Linked DNA regions of Homo sapiens: region 2 is linked to region 1. The links are contacts of gene promoters, found by promoter capture Hi-C in blood cells and fetal thymus (Javierre and others, 2016). All regions are on one chromosome and are shown on one strand. The core of a region is centred on a gene start or on the middle of the fragment in contact, and the rest is flanking DNA. Distances in the headings are between cores, read along the strand shown. Region 1 holds the start of SUPT7L (SPT7 like, STAGA complex subunit gamma). Region 2 overlaps IFT172 (intraflagellar transport 172).

Evidence for each region. The method cuts DNA at HindIII sites, captures the fragments that hold promoters and counts their contacts. A CHiCAGO score of 5 or more calls a contact.
Region 2: a fragment that was not itself captured here is called in contact with the fragment with the promoter of SUPT7L in region 1 in 1 of 17 cell types (endothelial precursors); the score reaches 6.4 in endothelial precursors.

What each region holds. Positions count from the first base shown.
Region 1 is chr2:27,662,278-27,666,321 of GRCh38, reverse strand. It overlaps SUPT7L (SPT7 like, STAGA complex subunit gamma), which reads left to right and starts at 2,708. Exons shown (of 6, transcript NM_014860.3): 1 at 2,708-2,993; 2 at 4,041-4,044. It overlaps SLC4A1AP (solute carrier family 4 member 1 adaptor protein), which reads right to left and starts at 2,433. Exons shown (of 14, transcript NM_018158.3): 1 at 1,745-2,433; 2 at 1,027-1,222. The coding sequence starts at 2,407. The HindIII fragment of the contact is 6,150 bases long and covers 1,683-4,044 here.
Region 2 is chr2:27,461,651-27,465,007 of GRCh38, reverse strand. It overlaps IFT172 (intraflagellar transport 172), which reads left to right. Exons shown (of 48, transcript NM_015662.3): 19 at 1,827-1,911; 20 at 2,215-2,307; 21 at 3,172-3,249. Among named protein-coding and RNA genes, the nearest start is that of KRTCAP3, 21 kb to the right of the region's middle. The HindIII fragment of the contact is 1,056 bases long and covers 1,580-2,635 here.

The sequences.
Region 1 (4,044 bases), core at 1,459-3,958:
CTGGCCAATATGGTGAAACCCCATCTCTACTAAAATAAAAAAAATTAAGTTTCCCAAAGATCTAAGTCAGTGCTGTCCAACAGAAATATAATGACAGCTGTATGCGTCATCTTAAATTTTCTATTAGCCACATTAAAAAATTAAAAGGAAACAGGTAAAATTATTGTCATTTCAACATGTCATCAATATAAAAATATCATGAAAGAGATATTTTACATTCTTTTTTTCAGACTAAGTCTTTGAAATTCAGTGTGTATTTTGCATTTACAGCACACATCAATTGCAACTAGCCACACTGCAAGTGCTCAGTAACCACATGTGGCTAGTGGCTACCATATCAGACAACACAGGTCTAAGTCCCCAGTGACTGTTCTCTCTTCTCCAAACTTTCACTCTAGCATACTTATGGTTTCTAGCTTTTGTTTGGCACTTAGCACAAGTAATTTCATAATTTTTCCTATCTTCCCAACTATATATTAATGCCATCTTCTACCTTTTTATACTCCCATCTCCTGAATATCCATTTTCTAAAATATCTGGTGTTAAAGAAAGTTTATTATTTTGGCTAAGGGACCAGCTTTATCTGATTAGATATTCCACATTTCAGGATATCTTCACAAAGTACAAAAAATTCAAGAGAATATCCTATATTGAATAACATCCCATTTATTTGATTGAATAGAGTTCCATCCCCTCCAATGATAATCACATAGCACAAGGTCAGTACTTAATAAATATAAAATTTTAGAATTGTAAAAATAATAATTTTATGCTTAGGACAAGTTTTGAACAAGAGAGTGCATTAAAAATAAATTTTTAAAAAATCCAAAGTGCCTATAAGTCAATTTCTTTACAACAGTAAAGTCAGTGAATCTCTCTGGGTTTTGGTTACCTCATGTGCAAATTGTGTTTGCCCTATCTATCTCAAGGAGCCATGAAAAGCTGTATGATTTAAAAAAACATTTAAGGGTACCACTTGTAATGAACTTAAAATATTAACCTCCGGCAGCAATTTTAATTTCTTACCCATTCCCCAGGTGCAACCCATCTCATCATCTTGGCTACCAGCATTTATCTTCCTTTCAGAGGTATCCATTTCCTCTTCTTCATCTGAGTCTTCTCCTAGCATCTTCTTCTCCAACAATATTTGCTGCTGCTTGCGCAATTCCTTCAACTGTGTTACTGTTAACTCGGATTCTGCCTCTCGGTCTTCCTCTGGTCCCTGATGAACCAAGGAAAAAAAGGTTATTTATTTATTTAGAGACAGGGTCTTGCTCTGTCGCCTAGGCTGGACTGGAGTGCAGTGGCTGTAATACACCTCACTGCAGCCTTGACCTCCTGGGCTCAGGTGATCCTCCCACCTCAGCCTCCTGAGCAGCTGGGACCATGATGCCTGGCTAATTTTTTTTTTTTTTTTTAAGAGACAGGGTCTTGCCATGTTGCCCAGCCTCCTCTCAAACTCCTGGGCTAAAGCGATCCTCCCGCCTGGGCCTCCCAAAGTGTTGGGATTACAGGCGCGAGCCACCGCGCCTGGCCAAACAAGTTATTTTAGAGTTCGGGATTGTGAACATGACTTTCAGAAATATAGCAATGTGTACAGCCGTCTGAAGATGATAGGCCAGACTTGATTCCTTCACTTTCGTAATCGCTGAGTGGGAGATTCTTCTTCCTCATCCAAAGCTTAAGAAGCACAAGAACGCAGTCCAATGAACCCGAAATTTCAATTCTAGGTTTTTCTACCTACCTGCAGGATAAAGAGCCGGGTGCTGCCTCCAAAGCGAACAACATGCCCAACGTGGACTCGACAGTAGGTGCGAGGTGGGATGCGAGTTTTGTTGAGAAAAGTGCCATGGGTGCTTCCCAGATCGTAGAGGTAGAAGCCCGGCCCGTTGCTGTCGCATTCTCCGTCAGGGCCGGACGCCCTGTGCTGCAGCACTGCGTGGTACCGAGACACCGAAGGGTGCTCCAGGCACACGTCGCAGCCAGACAGCCTCCCGAAAAGGCAGTAACTCGTCCCTTTCAAGCTACGGGTGCCAAGGATAGTGCCGCCCTTCAGGGTCTCTAAGCTGTAGGGGGCTGTGGCAGGGCCACCCCATGGAGGCTCTTGGTAGGGGGGAGCCCGGGCTGGACCGCCAGGGGAAGAAACCGCTGTCGGGGGGCGCGACTGCTCCTCCTGTAGACTCCTAAAATCACCGCAGTCCGGCTGAGGAGGAGGGATGTCGGGCTCCCCAGAATTGGAGTCCTGCAACGCAGTGGGCCCTTCCTTCTGTACCTCCTCAGGGTTTGAAGAACTGCTGGCCGGGGCCTTACTCCGCGCCGCTGGGGACACCGGCAGAGCTGGCTTCTTGAAGTCCCCACTGAGGTCTTGCGACGCCAGGGTCTCTGACTGAGAGAGAATGTCAGCCATCCTCAACCGGTGCAACTTCGAAATCCGCTCCTTCGAAACCCACCCTTCGGTCTTTACGTTCCTGTCCACGTCCCACTCTCCCAAGCTCCCAGTGGCGTCTGTAGGCGGCGATGGTGAAGTTGCTCCTTCACGACCTGGAGCGTTGCGAAGTGGTGCTAACATGAGAAGGTCATAATATGAGAAAAACAAAACGGTTATCGGGATGCTGTGCAGAACGGGGACATATTTAGAGGTTACAACGGGATCGTAATGACTTCCTGTTGCATAGCTTGATTGAGAAGAAGCGCTTCCGGCGGTCTTAGATCACTAATCAACAAACCAGCTTTCGGGGTCTGACGCGATCCTTGCCTCAGGCCTCTCGAGGTCCAGACAGCCGCCCAGCCCGCTCTGCGACGCAGCAGTGAATAGTGTGGTACCTCCTTGTCTCGGTTCAGGTCCAGACCTCCCCGTCTTCCGGCTGCCCTGAACGTCAGGCGACCTCAGGACCCTGTGATTGGCGCCTGCGCCGGCGGACCGTGACCGAGGAAACCCCTGGAGGGACTTGGGCATTCCTTGGGCTCCGTGCCTGTTCTTCGTGCTCCTTTCGGTAAAGTAAGGGAAGAGGGCGACTTTTTTGTTATTTCGTTCATTCATTTATTTTTTTTCTGAAATTATTAAGGCAGAATAGTTAAGTGGTTAAGAGAGCAGACTCTGGAGACTGTCGATTTTTGACCTCGCCATTTGTGACATTGGGCAAGACACTAGGCCTCAGCCCTCACTCTGAAAAATGGGGATAAGATTATTAGCCTCATAGGGTTGTTGGAAGAATTGAATCAAACAATAAAGGCCAGCCAGACCGGTGGCTCATGCCTGTAATCCCAACATTTTGGGAGGCTGAGGCGGGAGGATTGCTTGAGCCCAGGAGTTCCAGAGGAGGCTGGGCAACATGGCGAGACCCTGTCTCGCCAAAAAAAAAAAAAAAAAAGAAAAAATCCAGGTTTGATGGTGCGCGCCTGTAGTCCCAGCTACTCCAGAGGCTGAGGTGGGAGGATTGCTTGGTCCCAGGAGGTTGAGGCTGCAGTGAACCATGACTGCACCACTGCACTCCAGCCTGGGCTACAGAGTGAAACCCTGTCTCAAAAAAGAAACAAACAAAAAAGGTGAAGTCTGGCATATAGTAAACATTCAACAAATGCCAGATATTTCTGTGTGCCTGGCCCTGTAACAAGACCACAGCCATAAGAAATAGACGGGCAGAAAAAATCTATTGCGATAAGTACTAATTAAAATCCAAGGATAACTGCTGTGACATAGACTTGCAAAGCACTGTGAGAATAGAGAAAGGGAGATGCACTGGTGAAGTGACGGACGGTGGGGACTTATGCTGTACTTAAAAATGAATATGAGTCTGCCAGGGATGTGCAAGGTTGGCAGAGCATTTCTGGCAGAGTTCACAGCTGAAAGTGTCAATTGTGGAAATGTACAGCATTCTCAAGAAACTGAGTAGTATAATGTTGTTAGAACAAAGGTAGTCATTTCACCCAGGAAGCTCCTCCTTTGTGCTTCCAGTACCCCAGGTCCATATACCTCTAGAACAGTACTTACCATGTTTCATATTGAAATATTCTGCTTCTGTTTCTCTTCCTCACTTCAGGGCA
Region 2 (3,357 bases), core at 858-3,357, 200 kb after region 1:
AGAGGTTGCAGTGAGCTGAGATTGCACCACTGTACTCCAGCCTGGGTGACAGAGCAAGACTCTGTCTCAAAAAAAAAAAAAATATGTCTTGGCTGGGCACGGCGGCTCATGCCTGTAATCCTAGCACTTTGGGAGGGCGAGGTGGGCAGATCACTTGAAGCCAGGAGTTTGAGAGCAGCCTGGCCAACATGGCAAAACCTCAGCTCTACTAAAAATACAAAAATTAGCCGGGCATGGTGATGCGCACCTGTGGTCCCAGCTATTCAGGAGGCTGAGGCACAGGAATCACTTGAACCCGGGAGGCAAAGTTGCGGTGAGCTGAGATCATGCAACTGCACTCCAGCCTGGCTGATGCGCGAGATCGTATCTCAAAAAAAAAAAAAGTGAAAAAACAAGAGTATGTCTTTTATTATTTTTACTGCCCCTTCTTGTAACTAGGTTCCCTTTAGCATTTTTTTACTATTCATACCCTTCAATCTATGCATATGTGTATAATCCAGGTTTGGTATAGGAGTGCAGTTCACAGGACAAACTTGGGACTCCAGACTCCTTGAATTCAAATCTTGGTTCCAATTACCAACTTATATAACCATAGAGAGGTTATTTGACCTTCCCAAACCTTGGCTTCTTGATTTTCTCTGTGTAGAATAGGGTTAATAATAGTATTTGCCTCATATGATGATAAAGAAGATGGTAAGGATATTGGTAATGAAGGAGTGATGAGAGAATCTGTGCAAAGTGCTCGATAAATGTCACCTGCTGCCATTTTGGCTAGGAATCATCCTTGATCCCATTTTCTCCAGACTTCCCACATGTAGATTATCAGTAAGTCCTAAGGACTCTGTCTTCAAAACACATCCTGATGTCTCCATCCTTGTGCAGACCACTGCCGTCTCCCACCTGCAATATTGCACAGCCTCTTAATTAGTCGCACTGATACTGTTTCTTGTACCCCTACCATCTATTCATCCCAGAGCAGCTGAGGTCATTTTTTTAAACATAGATTGTGTCATTTTCATGACTGGAACCTTCCATTAGCTTACTGTTTTACTTAGTATAAAACCCAAACTCCTTGTGTGGCCTTAGCCCTGAAGTTTTTTGGCCTCTGCTTCCTTCTCATGCCAGCTTCCTGCTTGCCCATTAGTCTCCAACCACACTGGCATCCTTTTGGCTCTGTGAGTGTGCCAAGCTCATACCTGCTATAGAGCCTTAACACTAGCTGTTCGCTCTCCAGGAATAACTTTTCCCCATCCTGCCATGACTGGCTTTTTCTTGTATTCAGGTCTCAGCTCAAATGTCAGTTCATCAGAGAGACCTCCAACTACCAACTTAAGTGGCCCCTTCAGTCACTATCTATAACAGGGGTATCCAATCTTTGGCTTCCCTGAGCCACATCGGAAGAAGAATTATCTTGGGCCACACATAAAATATACTAACACTAATGATAGCTGATGAGCTTAAAAAAAAAAAAAAAAAAAGAGAAAAGAATCACAAAAAAATCTCATAATGTTTTAAGAAAGTTTATGAATTTGTGTTGGGCCACATTCAAAGCCATCTTGGGCCATGGGTTGAACAAGCTTGATCTGTAATATTACATTACTTTATTTTATTTTTTATTATCTCCAATTTTACTAATTATTTGTCTCCACCAGAATGGAAGTTCTCTGAGAGCAAGGCCCTCATCTTCCTTGGTCTCTATATGTCTCCAGTGACAAGACATTGGCTGGCACATCATAGATGTACATCAATTTGTATTTGCTGAACCAATGAATTAATGATGATTCTATAATAATATTACTATTAATGTTATTGCTTCCATGCCATAGGTGCTTTTCTGCTTTGGGCCAAGTAGCAAAAGCTCGATTCCTGCATGAGACCAATGAGATTGCAGATCAAGTATCCCGGGAATATGCAAGTATTATGCTCCTGATTCATTCTGTCTGTCTCCCAAGCTGATTTCTCTTAGTATTCAGCCCCATGATTCCTAGCTTTCCAGCCATCCCCAGTTTCCTTTACCCTGCCCACCCCACCTTTACCCTCAAGTCAGACCATTTCAGAATTGCTTTTGCTAAACCTCAAACCTTTAAGCTCCATGAAGTGTTTTACCTTCCCAAGTCTTTTGTTTTCTACATCCTTCTGGCCTTCCAATTTCAGCCCTCACAGACAGAATGGCAGCACCTACAGAAAAATCAGAACCTCCTTTTTCCCCCACAGGGCGGAGAAGGAACAGACTTTTATCAGGTCCGAGCACGTCTAGCCATGCTGGAAAAGAACTACAAACTGGCTGAAATGATCTTTTTGGAACAGGTAATAGGAAAAGAGGGACAGGATGGAAGAGGGGATATGAGGGAAAAAGAGAGAAAAGGGGGTACAAACTCAAGGGAGGAAAGCGTGCTGGTGAACTAGGCTTCCAAAGGTTTGGGGAAAACTTTCAAAGGGGTTTATATAGTTAATTTCACCCTTTTCTTAATTTCCTTCTCTTGTGTCAGTCCTTACTTTTCTAGACAAACTTCCTTCTTTGGCCTTTGATTACTACTTTCTTTCATAAGCAGTCTACTACCTCCCCTCCAGTCCAGAGCCTGTCTTTGCAATTCTTGTGCATAGGGGTAGATCCAGGTTTTGTGGGCCGGAAGCTTATACAATTTGAGGAGCTCTCTTTAAGAACAGTTGCCTTAGGCCAGGCGTGGTGGCTCACACCAGTAATCCCAGCACGCTGGGAGGCTGAGGCAGGTGGATCACATGAGGTCAGGAGTTCAAGACCAGCCTGGCCACATGGTGAAACCCCATCTCTACTAAAAATACAAAAAATTAGCCAGGAGTGGTGGCACACGCCTGTAATCCCAGCTACTCGGGAGGCTGAGGTGGGAGAATCGCTTGAGCCAAGGAAGCAGAGGTTGCAGTGAGCCCGAGATCACACAACTGCACTTCAGCCTCGGCAACAGAGTGAGACTCCATCTCAAGAAAAAGAACAGTTGCCTTGGAAAGGGTGTGTGCAAATAAGGAGCCCTGAAGCTTAAGCTTCTTTTAGTTTCCCAGTATTTCTGTTGGTATAGTAGTTAAAAGGCTTTTGGTCCTCATGGGCTGGCATCTTAGCCAGGCTGAGGAGAGCTTGCTGCTTTCTGATCCTCATATCTTTCTGGTGTCCCTCTCTGCTCTGCCTGTTTCCCCTAGAATGCTGTGGAGGAGGCCATGGGCATGTACCAGGAGCTACACCGTTGGGATGAGTGTATCGCTGTGGCTGAAGCCAAGGTACCTGTTTTATCTTCTCCACAGTTGTTCAGAATTTGGTTCTGCCAATTTCAAAAACCTCCTTTTGTCAAGGAGGCCATAGAAACCAGAACAGGGTTGGGGCTTGGA